Linked DNA regions of Homo sapiens: regions 1, 3, 4 and 5 are each linked to region 2. Evidence: promoter capture Hi-C in 16 types of primary human blood cells and fetal thymus (Javierre and others, 2016). All regions are on one chromosome and are shown on one strand. The core of a region is centred on a gene start or on the middle of the fragment in contact, and the rest is flanking DNA. Distances in the headings are between cores, read along the strand shown.

The links. The method cuts DNA at HindIII sites, captures the fragments that hold promoters and counts their contacts. A CHiCAGO score of 5 or more calls a contact.
Region 1: a fragment that was not itself captured here is called in contact with the fragment with the promoter of C12orf43 in region 2 in 1 of 17 cell types (erythroblasts); the score reaches 6.0 in erythroblasts.
Region 3: a contact is called between a fragment that was not itself captured here and the fragment with the promoter of C12orf43 in region 2, in 14 of 17 cell types (megakaryocytes, endothelial precursors, erythroblasts and 11 more). The highest score is 20.8, in megakaryocytes.
Region 4: a fragment that was not itself captured here is called in contact with the fragment with the promoter of C12orf43 in region 2 in 1 of 17 cell types (erythroblasts); the score reaches 5.3 in erythroblasts.
Region 5: a contact is called between a fragment that was not itself captured here and the fragment with the promoter of C12orf43 in region 2, in 4 of 17 cell types (endothelial precursors, erythroblasts, M0 macrophages and 1 more). The highest score is 7.5, in endothelial precursors.

The regions. Positions count from the first base shown.
Region 1 is chr12:120,552,271-120,554,970 of GRCh38, forward strand. RNF10 (ring finger protein 10) reads left to right here. Exons shown (of 17, transcript NM_014868.5): 3 at 229-428; 4 at 2,448-2,538. Among named protein-coding and RNA genes, the nearest start is that of RNF10, 19 kb to the left of the region's middle. The HindIII fragment of the contact is 5,324 bases long and covers 1-2,700 here.
Region 2 is chr12:121,015,200-121,017,899 of GRCh38, forward strand. C12orf43 (chromosome 12 open reading frame 43) reads right to left here and starts at 1,288. Exons shown (of 6, transcript NM_022895.3): 1 at 1,131-1,288. The coding sequence starts at 1,275. It also overlaps a transcript of OASL not described here. RefSeq lists enhancers at 467-982, 954-1,463 and a silencer at 1,191-1,384. The HindIII fragment of the contact is 10,275 bases long and covers 1-2,683 here.
Region 3 is chr12:120,582,864-120,585,563 of GRCh38, forward strand. No RefSeq gene overlaps it. Among named protein-coding and RNA genes, the nearest start is that of POP5, 2.8 kb to the left of the region's middle. RefSeq lists silencers at 1,602-1,971, 2,002-2,071. The HindIII fragment of the contact is 5,644 bases long and covers 1-2,700 here.
Region 4 is chr12:120,694,438-120,697,137 of GRCh38, forward strand. MLEC (malectin) reads left to right here. Exons shown (of 5, transcript NM_014730.4): 3 at 387-563; 4 at 658-715; 5 at 1,879-2,700. The coding sequence ends at 2,108. Among named protein-coding and RNA genes, the nearest start is that of MLEC, 8.6 kb to the left of the region's middle. The HindIII fragment of the contact is 819 bases long and covers 883-1,701 here.
Region 5 is chr12:120,622,755-120,625,454 of GRCh38, forward strand. No RefSeq gene overlaps it. Among named protein-coding and RNA genes, the nearest start is that of CABP1-DT, 16 kb to the right of the region's middle. The HindIII fragment of the contact is 6,113 bases long and covers 1-2,700 here.

The DNA.
Region 1 (2,700 bases), core at 59-2,558, 460 kb before region 2:
ACGCCTGTAATCCCAGCTACTCAGGAGGCTGAGGCAGGAGAGTCACTTGAACCTGGGAGGCAGAGGTTGCAGTGAGCCAAGATCGTGCCATTGCACTCCAGCCTGGATGACAGAGTAAGACTCCGTCTCAAAAAAAAAAGCTGTGTAAAAGGAGGGTTTTTTTTGGGTTTCTGCTATAAATCAGTGTCATCCTAATCTGAAATACTGATTCATTCTCATTCTCTCTAGGTAGCAGAGGCTCAACGGGCAGAGTTTAGCCCTGCCCAGTTCTCTGGTCCTAAGAAGATCAACCTGAACCACTTGTTGAATTTCACTTTTGAACCCCGTGGCCAGACGGGTCACTTTGAAGGCAGTGGACATGGTAGCTGGGGAAAGAGGAACAAGTGGGGACATAAGCCTTTTAACAAGGAACTCTTTTTACAGGCCAAGTGAGTATTGCTACCCCTCAGAGGAAAGGGAAAGTAGGACTCTCCGGATAGCTGTGGTGCCTCTGTGAGAGGCTTTTTTTAAGCTATTGTGGGAAAGAAGCAGAAAGGGAATTGGTCTCGTTCTTTTTCTGTTCACCACTGCCCCGCCCTTCCTTTCTTTTACCCACTTTCCAGGTGGATGTTTTTGGTACTTAATATAATGCTTAAATAACTTAGTATCATGATAAGGTAGAAAACATGTTTGGAATTGGACCTAGATTTGAATCTTGTTTCGGCCTTTGACCTTAAGTAACTTAACAGCTTTGAGATTTAGCCTCTCCTTTATAAGGAAGAGGAAAGGTTTTTTTTTTTTTTTTTTTTTTTTTTTTTTTTTTTTTTTTTTTTTTTTTTTTTTTTTTTTTTTGAGATGTAGTCTCGCTCTGCCACCCAGGCTAGAGTGCGGTGGCGTGATCTCGGCTCACTGCAACCTCTGCCTCCCGGGTTTAAGTGATTTTTTTGCCTCAGCCTCCCGAATAGCTGGGACTACAGGTGCATACCACCACCCCCGTCTAATTTTTTTATTTTTATTTTTGATAGAGACGGGGTTTCACCATATTGGCCAGGCTGGTCTCAAACTCCTGACCTCGTGATCCACCTGCCTCGGCCTCCCAAAGTGCTGGGATTACAAGCATGAGCCACCATGCCCAGCCAGGAAGAGGAATTCTTTTTTTTTTTTTTTTTTTGAGACAAAGTCTTGCTCTGTCACCCAGGCTGGAGTGCAGTGGCACGATCTCAGCTCGCTGCAAGCTCCACCTCCCGGAGCTTCATGCCATTCTCCTGCCTCAGCCTCCCGAGTAGCTGGGACTACAGGCGCCCACCCCCTGGCTAATTTTGTTTTTGTATTTTTAGTAGAGATGGTGTTGCACCGTATTAGCCAGGATGGTCTTGATCTCCTGACTTCATGATCCACCCGCCTCGGCCTCCCAAAGTGCTGGGATTACAGGCGTGAGCCACGGCACCCAACCAGGAAGAGAAAATTTCTTAAGAGACAATTGAATGACAAGTTGAAGTGCTTGGCATACATTTGCTCAAATATGATCCCCTTTTGTTTCCTTTTGTGTGGCCCTAGTCATAATTGAAGATTTGACTTTGGATCTAGACTGAAGTAACCGTTTTGTACTTTATATGAACTGATGAACTGGTTTCAAATACTAATGACAGTCTTCTGTTTTTTTTTTTTTTTTGGTGACAGAGTCTCCCTCTGTCGCCCAGGCTGGAGTGTAGTGGCGTGATCTCGGCTCCCTGCAGCTTCTGCCTCTCAGGTTCAAGTGATTCTCCTGCCTTAGCCTCCTAAGTAGCTGGGACTACAGGCGCGTGTCACCATGCCCGGCTAATTTTTTTTGTATTTTTAGTAGAACGGGGTTTCACCGTGTTAGCCAGGATGGTCTTGATCTCCTGACCTCGTGATTCACCTGCCTCGGCCTCCCAAAGTGCTGGGATTACAGGTGTGAGCCACCATGCCTGGCCTAATTTTTCTATTTTTAGTAGAGATGGGGTTTCACCCTGTTGGCCAGGCTGGTCTCTAACTCCTGACCTCAAGTGATCCACCCACCTTGGCCTCCCCAAGTGCTGGGATTACAAGTGTGAGCCACTGTGCCTGGCCGAGAACAGTCTTTTCAACTGCCTTGAAGACTAGCCATTTTCTGGGGTTCTAAGGGGTGAGAGAGGAAATCTGGCTTACTGCTGTTTGATGGAGTCACGGTCTAGGTTAATTTTAGTTCAAGGGATGCCTTTGGGGAATTTGGCTGGACTTGAAGCAGAAGAAAACAGTTCATGGATTTAGACTTCTGCCTGCTGAGTCTTTGGGTTCTTTCCAGAGCTGGAGCTCAGAACTGAGGCTGAGGTCCTAGTGCAGTGCCTCATGAACCAGGGCTGCTAATGGCCTGCATTTGATTTCTAAGTGAATAGATGACAATTTCTGCTGAGGGTTTATTGGTAGATCCTGACAGTCTAGCTTTTTCCTGTCTTTCCTATTTCTAGCTGCCAATTTGTGGTGTCTGAAGACCAAGACTACACAGCTCATTTTGCTGATCCTGATACATTAGTTAACTGGGACTTTGTGGAACAAGTGGTGAGTAGCTCAGCCAAGCCCATAAGCTATGAATGGGAGCACTAAATAAAGGCACTGTGGTGACGCAGCAGCTGTTGGCTGTGTGCACTGCTTGATACCCTTTTCTGCCTGGCCTTTCTATAGATGTTTCCCAGAGGTCAGTTCCTGGTTCTTCCTGGAGTC
Region 2 (2,700 bases), core at 38-2,537:
AGATGGAAAGGCAGATCTGTAAATAGAACTTGCAGAGAAAACTGTGGTTATGGTACTAGGGGGTGAGAGGGGCAGACTATGGTCTGGAAGCTACCTACAGGAAGTGCAGTATGGCAGGAGGGAAGGAAGGGAGAGGAAGGCAATGGATCACCAAAGGGCTTGTAAGTCCTTTTAAACAAATCCAGCGGTTCTTAACCTTGCTTTGCCATAGCCTTCTCTAACAGCCTGGTGAAGCCCGGTTCTCTTCTCAGAGCAATGTTTTAAATGCATGAAATGCAACATACAGGATTACAAAGAAAACCAATGATACCGAAATTTAATTATCATGATAGTAAACAACCAAACTTGTGATGTATGTGCTTCTTACATCTTAGATATAGAGATGGGTCTAAAAATTAGAGTGGCACATTTTAAATCAGGGATGAGTGTAAATGACTTTTTTCCCCAATATCTTTTTATCAATAAAATGATATATTGATATCTGTATCTGCAAAGATTGTAATGAGATATGAAAATCTGTGACTTCTGTTGGGATAAAGTAACGGCATTGCCAGAACTACTGTGGCTTAGTGCTTGCAAGACGGAAAGAGATGCTAAAATTCAGTCAGAGATGAATAGAAAGCAAAGATGCAACATGTTTTCATTCCAAATTCAAGAACCCTTGGGTTCTATCCATGATTAGGCCCCTTGATGTTGCGGGGCTCTGTATTTATTCCCAGGGCACTAGGGAGTCACGGTCAGAGTGATGTGCTGGGCACTGCTCTTGGCAACAACCTCCAGGGTGGGAGAATGTGTTGGAGGTGGGGAAAGGCTGGGTGCGAGAATACCGGGAGGGGGCTGTTGCAGTTATCTCGAAGAGACGGCAGCCTTCCCAGTGTGGGGCAGTGAGGATAGACCCAAGGAGGCAGAATCAAAAGACATTTGGGTACCTCAGCTTCCCCGACTGGAATAATGAAATACCCTCCCTACTGCACCTGCCCATGCTTTCAATCTGCACTACACCCAGTCCCTGGAGGTCTCTCGGGGAAGGAAGCCGAGTCCCAGTGACTCTCTCCTCACCATCCATCCTCTCAGGCTCCAGGGGAAGATCCCACGCCCCTCAGCCAGTCTCCCCAAACATAGTACCCTACCGGCTCTTGGCTTCCCTGCCACGTGCGGGCGTTGCTCCAAGCCCCAAGCCGGCATTGCCGCCTCGCGGCACCGCTCCAGCTCCTCCGCATCGCTACTGCTGTTACTACTTTCCGAATCGCTCACTGTGCCACTGGGCGCCGCCATCTTGAACCACCGCAAAGGATTGTGGAGAACACCGCCGTTATCAAGCCTCCTTCATGACGTCACGTGAGAGGAGAGGCGCGAGGCATTGTGGGGATTGTAGTTCCAAGACTTGGACCGCCATTGGCCATGAACTGTACTGGGTTGGGGATACCAGGTGGGAATGGGGAGGTGGGCGGTTCTCAAAGGCAAGAGCTAGAAGGGCCTAAGAGATTAACTTCTCCAATCATTTCTTGATGACAGATCTCCAGAGGGGATGGGAATCTCCTAAGGAGTTAATGACAGACCCAGGATTAGTTCCCAGGTTTTGATTCCATGTCATTTATTCTAGTAATTTCCCAGTCCAGCTGGGCCTAAGAAACACCTTAGAGAGCTGGTTAAACTGCAGACTTTTGGGTCTCACAGAAAATACTAACAGAATCAGAATCTCTGATAGGTGGAATCCAGGAATCTGTATTTCCTTTAATAGCCTAGGGCCTTACTACTTAAGAGTGTAGTCCATGAGCCAGCAGCATTGGTAACACCTGGGAGCTCGTTAGAAATGCAGAATCCAGGCTGGGCACGGTGGCTCACGCCTGTAATCCCAACACTTTGGGGGGCTGAGGCAGGCAGATCACAAGGTCAGGAGTTCGAGACCAGCCTGGCCAACATAGTGAAACCCCATCTCTACTAAAAATACAAAAATTAGCTGGGCATGGTGGCACGCACCTGTAGTCCCAGCTACTCAGGAGGCTGAGGCAGGAAAATCACTTGAACCTGGGAGGTGGAGGTTGAGGTGAGCCAAGATCGTGCCACTGCACTCCAGCCTGGGCAACAGACTGAGACTCTGTCTCGAAAAAAAAAAAAGAGAAATGCAGAATCCTGTCCGGGCACGGTGGCTCACATCTGTAATCCCAACACTTTGTGAGGCCGAGGCGGGCAGATCATGAGGTCAGGAGTTCGAGACTAGCCTGACCAACATGGTGAAACCCCATCTCTACTAAAAATACAAAAATTAGCCAGGCAATACTGACTCCCAGGACCCATCCAAGACCAAAAAATTAGAATCTCTGTGGTTAAAATACCTCACAGTGAAGGATGAACAAAATCACTTTACTTTTGTGTGTGGAATGCTGTTTCATGTTTTATCTTTGAAGACAGGTATGTCAAAACTTTACTAAAATAAACTCTCTGGCCTTGAGCTTTTTCTATTTCAAAGAAGAGGAAGGTGACTGATATGGTCTGAATGTGTTCCTCCAAAATTCATATGTTAAAATTGACACCATAAAATAAATAACAGAGAGACTGACTCTCCAAAATAAAGCGTTTATTCCAGAATTGCAAGGAATTGCAATTTGAGATATGCATGCTATAGTGGACTATAGGCACATTAAAAGAGGTTGTGGCAACGAGAAAAGACAAAGTCCACATAAGCTTCTTTAAAACAAG
Region 3 (2,700 bases), core at 138-2,637, 430 kb before region 2:
CAGCTCACTGCAACCTCTGCCTCCTGGATTCAGGCGATTCTCCTGCCTCAGCCTCCCAAGTAGCTGGGACTACAGGTGTGTGCCACCACAACTGGCTAATTTTTGTATTTTTAGTAGGGACAGGGTTTCCCCATGTTGGCCAGGCTGGTCTTGAACTCCTGACCTCAGGTGATCCACCCACCTCGGCCTCCCAAAGTGCTGGGATTACAGGCGTGAGCTACCACGCCTGGCCATTTGGCTATATTTTCATGTCAGCTCTTCAGCGACAATACTGTTTTTTAGCTGTGCAGTATTGCATTGTTTGGACGTACCATTGTGAAGTTGGTCAGTATCCCTTTGGTAGACGTTTACATTATTTCTAGATTTTCTTGTTATACCCAATACTTTGATGCATGGCTTTGTAGCTTAGTCTTTATGCCCATCCCTGATTATTTGTAGAAGTGTCTTGGCCTTGGCTGGTCCTGTGAGGTCCGTAATGGGGGCAGCTTTCACAACCTATTTTTGCAAGATCTGGAATGAGTTCTGAATTTTCCCATCTCCCACTCTTCTTGGCCACCTTAAAGGAGGGATGTGGGGGAAGGTAGGGAAGAAAAGAATAGGAAGAGGGAACGCCGTGGCCCTGCCAAGGGACCAGTGACAGTGACGGCACTCCCCACCCAAGAACAACTTTTCACCAGAAAGTGTCTGCGACATCCTCCTTTGGCCAACAGGGGGCGCCAGAGGTCCGCAGTGCGCGGAGAGAGCAAGACACCCCCAACTCCTGAGCGCTCCACCCCTCATAGAAATTTCACTCCTCCCAGCCTTCATTTCAACAGCAATGCTTCGCCCATTTTATAGATGCAGTTGGGGCTCAGACCAAAGCCTCGTATCCAGTTAGGAGCAGGATCAGAATTCGAACCCAAAGCCAGCTGACTCCTTGTTCTGGTCAACACGGTTGGTGCTCTCCCGTGCAGGATTTCACTCGTCCATTTAGTGTAATAAGATGGAGAGACGACAGATGGAGGTTCGATTCGCTACTCCGTCATTTACTGGCCCGGCCAGGTGCTGTCAGGAGGGTTAATTCATGTCTCAGATCTTAGTTTCCTCATCTGTGCAATGGGATAACAATGGTTCCTCCCTCGTGGGTGGATATGAAGTTTAAGCGGGGTCATGTGGACAAAATGCCTGGCACAGCGAGTGCATAGTAAGCCCTTTTTTTGTTTTTGTTTTTTTTGTTTTGTTTGTTTTTTGAGACTGATTTTTAAGACTGTCTTAAAAACAAGAAAAGAAAAAAGAAAATATAGCCAAACAACAGGAATTTTTTGAGACAGTTTTTTGCTCTGTCGCCCAGGCTGGAGTGCAGTGACGCCATGTCGGCTCACTGCAGCCTCTGCCTCCCGGGTTCAAGCAATTCTCCTGCCTCAGCCTCCAGAGTAGCTGGGATTAAGGCGCCTGCCACGACGCCCGGCTAATTTTGTATTTTTAGTAGAGATTTCACCATGTTGGACAGGCTGGTCTCAAACTCCTGACTTCAAGTGATCCGCCCGCCTCGGCCTCCCAAAGTGTTGGGATTACAGGCGTGTGCCACCGCCCTCGGCAAGTAAACGCTGTTCTGAACAAATGATTTACTTTTCCCCCACAGGCACAGCCCCGGGAGGAAGCACATTGGCACGGCCCGCGGCCTCCCAGTCTTGGACCAGGCCCGGCCCCTTCTGGCCCAGGAGGGTGCAGACGCCGGCGGTGGCCGGGCGGGCGGGCTCCCCGCGGTAATTAGCGCGCGCCGGCTCGGGCTGCGCCAGCCGCTAATTATAAGTCTCCTAATGAGGCCGGCGGCTGTTTGCAATCACCCGGGTCCCCGCTGCGCGGCGCGGGAGGCTGCGGGGGAATCCGCCCGCGGAGGCATGGAGGAGGAGCGGCCGTCTTCCCCGGGGCCCGGAGATCCGCTGGACGGCGACGGGGTGTGCCCCGGCCGTGCCCGCCGCCGGAATGCCGGCCGCGAAGGGGCAGCGGCGGGGGCTCACACCCCAACCCCTCCTCGGTTCTCTCCCCAGCCGGGCCGCAGAGCCATTATCCTCCCCAGGTGAGGAAGCCGATGAGGCTCTGAGAGGTGAGCTCACCCAGGTGCGACATCACAACTCACCCAGGTGCACAATAGAGCCCAATCCACGTCTGTCTGACCCCAGCCTGTGCCCTTAGCCGAGTCAGGTATCCCCTGGATCAATGGGGTGGTCACTGTTGTCATTACTGTTAGCATTATTACAGTCGTCCTGGGACTTCTCAGATTCCTTTTTTTTTTTTTTTTTTTTTTTTTGAGATGGAGTCTCCCTCTGCCGCCTAGGCTGGAGTGCAGTGGCGCGATCTCAGCTCACTGCAACCTCTGCCTCCCGGGTTCAAGCGATTCTTCTGGCTCAGCCTCCCCAGTAGCTGGGACTACGGGCACGTGCCACCTCGCCTGGCTAATTTTTTATATTTTTAGTAGAGACAGGGTTTTACCGTGTTAGCCAGGATGCTCTCCATCTCCTGACCTCGTGATCCACCCACCTTGGCCTCCCAAAGTGCTAGGATTACAGGCGTGAGCCACCGCGACCGGCCTTTTTTTTTTTTTTTTCTGAGACAGGATCTCACTCTGTCCCACAGGCTTGAGGGCAGTAGCTCCATCTTGGCTCACCGCAACCTCTGCCTCCTAGGTTCAAGCGATTCTCCTGCCTCAGCCTCCTGAGT
Region 4 (2,700 bases), core at 42-2,541, 320 kb before region 2:
GACAGAAAGCAATGCCAGAATCCTTGTTTTGCCAACTAACTGATCCTGTTAAGGCCCTCCTGGCTACTTCCCTCCATGGTTTGCCGCACCTTCTTGTTTTTAGCCTTATTTTTCCTCTGTCCCTTCCTGTGAATTTCCTTCTTCCTATGCTAAGCTTTTTGTTTGTATTCTTTGTTCCTTAAAGCCAATATAAGAACTCCTGGGCAGTGAAGGAACACGGCTTTGATTTGACCCGGGTTAAGGATGCTAACCACCCTGGATATCCAGACCCATCATTTCTTAAATTATTTTTGAACTTCAAGCCCAAACACGTGCATGATGTCCAACTGCTTGAAAGGATGTAAAGCTGATGGTTTTGACATTGTTTTCTTTTCTTATCCTGGAAGGTATTTGATGTACGATTGAATGGCCACGTCGTGGTGAAGGACTTGGATATCTTTGATCGTGTTGGGCATAGCACAGCTCACGATGAAATTATACCTATGAGCATCAGAAAGGGGAAGCTGAGTGTCCAGGGGGAGGTGTCCACCTTCACAGGGAAACTCTACATTGAGTTTGTCAAGGTAATTCCCCTATTCTGCCCATTGCTGAAGAGAGTGGGTACAGGGGAAGTTGTTTGCTGCTGTGTGGGGTTGACCACTGTTTCCCTTTTCCTAGGGGTACTATGACAATCCCAAGGTCTGTGCACTCTACATCATGGCTGGGACAGTGGATGGTAGGTTGTGTTCTGACCTGCTTTTTTGACTTGAGTGGAGGGATATGGTTGAGGAAGCCCTTGGGAGGTAATTGAGCTGATGACTATTTTGGAAACACTTAAAGCTAAATTGTAGGGGATTCAGAATCAGTTGGATAAGGATGAAGCATAACATGGTACTAGCCACAAGCTTTGGAGTCAGGTCTATGTATATCTTGTTGCTGCCATTTAATCAGATGTTTGTCTTGGATGGATGCTTTTAATTTCCCTATAAATTGGGATTAATAATGGTACCTATTGGTGTACCCTGACCTTTGTAGTCATTTGGGATCACCTAAAACTTGTCCTTATTCTGTTTGTTTGACATCTCTTTCCTAGGGGAAAAAAAGGTAAAAGGAGGAGTCCTGTAGGCTTTTGGTATGCTCTGAAAGATTCCAGCATTGCTGGACTGCACTGGGACAAAACTTCACTTATTTATGTCTCCTTATCCTTGGGATCAAGTCTTAGAGTATATTTCTTTCTCAGGGTTTAGATTCTCCTGGCTGCCAGCATCTCAGGCTGATTTTTGCAGAGAAAGCTGCGTCTTTGTGACATTTCTCCCCCATTCCACCTCTGTACCTTTCCCCAACTCAATCTTGAATGCACTGAGGATTTCATCCTGTTGTCTTGATGTCCCCCAAATGCTGATATTATGACATCTAGGAGGATGAATGTCTTACCACCAAACAGACCTGTGTTCAAGTCCCTGAGGAGGAGGCAGGACAGAGGGATAGTGTGTGCTGGGAACCCAGAACTCTCTGGGTCAACGTTTCTTCAGTTGTTGTGTGAATCAAAAGGGAATGTGGGCTTGTGGGAGGAGGAGGGATTTGAAAAGGCTAAAGTTTAGGCATTGGATCATTGTCCCTGTCCAGTCTGGTTATCTTGGGGCTCTGTAAAAGTAGAACAGGAAGGTAAGATAGTGAACCTCCCTATGAGCACGGCTTTTTCTACTTTCTAGTTAAATCTAAAGCTTTTGCAGCACTCTGCTGTTCTGTAGACCAGAGGCTATTTCTGCTACTTCTGGTCTTTTCTCTGGACCCGGGTTCAATCACAGCAATCTCTTTATTGTGGCTTATTTGCTGCTTTTAAGGGTCTCTCTTACTTAAATGCTGTGGGTCTTAACAGTGTTTTCTTCCTTGTGTTAGATGTACCAAAGCTTCAGCCTCATCCGGGATTGGAGAAGAAAGAAGAGGAAGAAGAAGAAGAAGAATATGATGAAGGGTCTAATCTCAAAAAACAGACCAATAAGAACCGGGTGCAGTCAGGCCCCCGCACACCCAACCCCTATGCCTCGGACAACAGCAGCCTCATGTTTCCCATCCTGGTGGCCTTCGGAGTCTTCATTCCAACCCTCTTCTGCCTCTGCCGGTTGTGAGAACAAATGACTATCCTGAACAGGGTGGAGGGGTGTGGGAAAGAAACCAGCCATATTGGTTTTGGTTTCTGTATTTTTCACAATGATTAATGAACAAAAACAAAGAGAAAAAAACACACATCAATTAAAGGAGACAAAAAGAGGCAGAGCGAGTAGAGAGCAGCCCTCATTCACCACCTGGTCCCAGACGTGCTTCAGTCCTCGTCCTCTCTTTGTGGCTGGCTCCCAGCCTTCTCTTTCCTCTTGAGGATACTTAGGGTAAACTGGATCCTTCCTGCTCAAGGATCCTCATTTGTATACCTAGTGGAAAGGACTCTGAACTCAGAGGAGTCACTGTTCCTTTTTTTAGGTTAGAAATTAACAGCAGGGAAATGCCATCTTATTACCTGAGACGACCAGCACTGGGAGTTAGGTACGGTCTGAAGTTATGTCTAGATAAGACTTCAGACGTCCTGGGATTGAAAGAATGTGTGTGAAGGGGTAGAATTTGTGCGGTAAAGACTTAAAAAAAAAAGTAGGGAGATTAAAAAAAAAGAAAGAAAATGCTTCCTTATCTGGAAGCCTTTCTGGATTAATCCAGTGATGGTCCCAC
Region 5 (2,700 bases), core at 21-2,520, 390 kb before region 2:
AGGTTCAAGCGATTCTCCTGCCTCAGAATCCCAAGAAGTTGGCATTATATGTGTGCGCCACCACACCGGCTACTTTTTGTATTTTTAGTAGAGACAGGGTTTCACCATGTTGGCCAGGCTGGTCTTGAACTCCTGACCTCAGGTGATCCGCCCACCTCGGCCTCCTAAAGTGCTTGGGATAACAGGCGTGAGCCACTGTGCCTGGTCCCTGCCCCTTTCTTCGTCCTATCTTCCTGCTCACCCACTTCACTCCCGCAGTCTCCTTGCTGCCCCTGGGAACGCACTGGGTCCATTCCTGCCTTGTGGCTCTGCTCTGCTTTCTTCTCCTGGGACACTCTTCCCCCAAATACTGGCATGTTTTCGTCCCTCACCCCCTTCAGGTCTTTGCTCAAATGCTAACTTCTCAGGGAGGCCTTCCCTGACCACCCTACTTAAAATCACATCCATGCAATATACACTCCTTATTCCCTTTCCCAGCTTCATTTTTCTCCGTCGCATTTATTGTCATCCAGCATACTATGTATCTTACTAACTCATCTTTTTATTGTCTGGTTCCTTCTACCAGAACGTGAGCTCCAAGACGATAGGAGTTTTTGTCTGTTTTGACTCTGCTCTCTCCATAAGGTCTAGAATAGTGCCTGGTGCATAGCTGGCACTCAAAAAAATAGGTGTTGGCTCCATGAATTCGCTGGGATTTTCACGGCCTTGCTGTGTGGCCCTGGGTAGTGAATCTCACCTCTCTGGGCCTCAGTCTGTTGAACTCACTGGCCTTCCAGTTTAGACATCCTGGGGCTCTGTCCCTTCATCCTGGCACTTAAGGGTTTTTGTTTATTTCTTTTGTTTTGTTTTGTTTTGTTTTGTTTCTCCCCACAATATCTGCTAAAAGGAGAACTGGCCAAGGCCTGGCTTGATATTTTTCTCCTAGGCTAGACTTTGAGCCAGGCACATGCCAGCACTCTTGTATCTGAATAAGGGGCTTTGACAAGATGCATTTGTGTGACCGAGCTTCTAAATGTGTTTGAGAACCTGGGTGAGACGGGACATTCCAGCAAAATGTCAGCATAGGCCCAAATTCTGTCTTTCTGTTTCTTTTTGTTTGCAGTGGAGCAAAAAGTAGAAATCTCCAAGGGCACCGCGGACCCTTCTCTAATGAATCAATGGAAACGCCCACTGATCTGGAGATGTAAGGGACGAGCCTGCTGGCTGTGATTCCCCACACCTGTAACAGGCTGTTTCCACTTCCTCAGGAGCCAGCTGTGAGAAACCCACAGCAGAACTGCCCACCTTCCAACAAGGGAAGCCTGCAGGAGAACTGCAGGCTTCAATGGGGATGCCAAGCCCATTTTTAGATCTCATCTGTTCTTAATGAGAAATGGGTCCAACCTTGCCCAGGTTTCTAGAACAATCCCTGACAGGGCTTTGGAGTTTATTAGCATGTTCACACGCTATCTGGCTTAATTGCCAGATGATCTCTTGTTTTCTCTTCTTTTTATGGTGCACTCCCTGGGACTAGCATAATACCTAGCATCTGGTAGGGATCACTAGATTTTTGTTGGAAGAGTTAGTTTTCATAAGTCATGAAAGACAGGCAATATTGTCATCATTTTTTTTTCTTTTGAGACAGAGTCTCGCTCTGTCGCCAGGCTGCAGTGCAGTAGCGCGATCTTAGCTCACTGCAAGCTCCGCCTCCTGGGTTCAAGCAATTCTCCTGCCTCAGCCTCCCGAGTAGCTGGAGCCACAGGTGCACGCAACCACGCCCAGCTAATTTTTGTATTTTTAGTAGAGACGGGGTTTCACCATGTTAGCCAGGATGGTTTTGATCTCCTGACCTTGTGATCCACCCGCCTTGGCCTCCCAAAGTGCTGGGATTACAGGCATGAGCCACCGTGCCCAGCCCATTTTTTTTTTAAGAGGTGGGGCCTCACTCTGTCGCCCAGGCTGGAGTGCTGTGGTGTGATCATAGCTCACTGCAGCCTTGAATTCCTGGGGTCAAGAGATCTCCCACCTCAGCCTTCCAAGTAGCTGGGACTACAGGCGTGTGCCACAGTGTTTGACTATGTCATCAATTTTTTTTTTGGGACGGAGTCTCGCTCTGTTGCCCAGGCTGGAGTGCAGTGGCGTGATCTTGGCTCACTGCAACCTCCGCCTCCCTGGTTCAAGCGATTCTCCTGCCTCAGCCTCCTGAGTAGCTGGGACTACAGGCCCAGGCCACCACGCCTCGCTAAATTTTTGTATTTTTTAGTAGAGACAGGGTTTCACCGTGTTAGCCAGGATGGTCTCGATCTCCTAACCTCGTGATCCGCCCGCCTCGGCCTCCCAGAGTGCTGGGTTTACAGGCGTGAGCCACCGGGTCGGGCTTACATGATCATTTTACAGATGATGAAACTCAGGCTCAGTAATGATATGACTTGGCCCAAGGTCACACAGCCAGGACATAAATCTATGCAGGCAGCTGGCTTGGGGTTACCAGAAAAGAAGAGAAGGAACTCCGTCCCAGTGGTGGCTACAATTTGGGAAAACAAACTTTACTTATGAATATGGGAGGACTTAAGAGAGCTTGCGCCTTTGGAATCCCAGTACTGCACTTGTGCACTTGGACAAGTTCTAAAGACAACAGGGGCCAGGCGCGGTGGCTCATGCCTGCAATCCCAACACTTTGGGAGGCCAAGGCGGGTGGATCACCTGAGGTCAGGAGTTCGA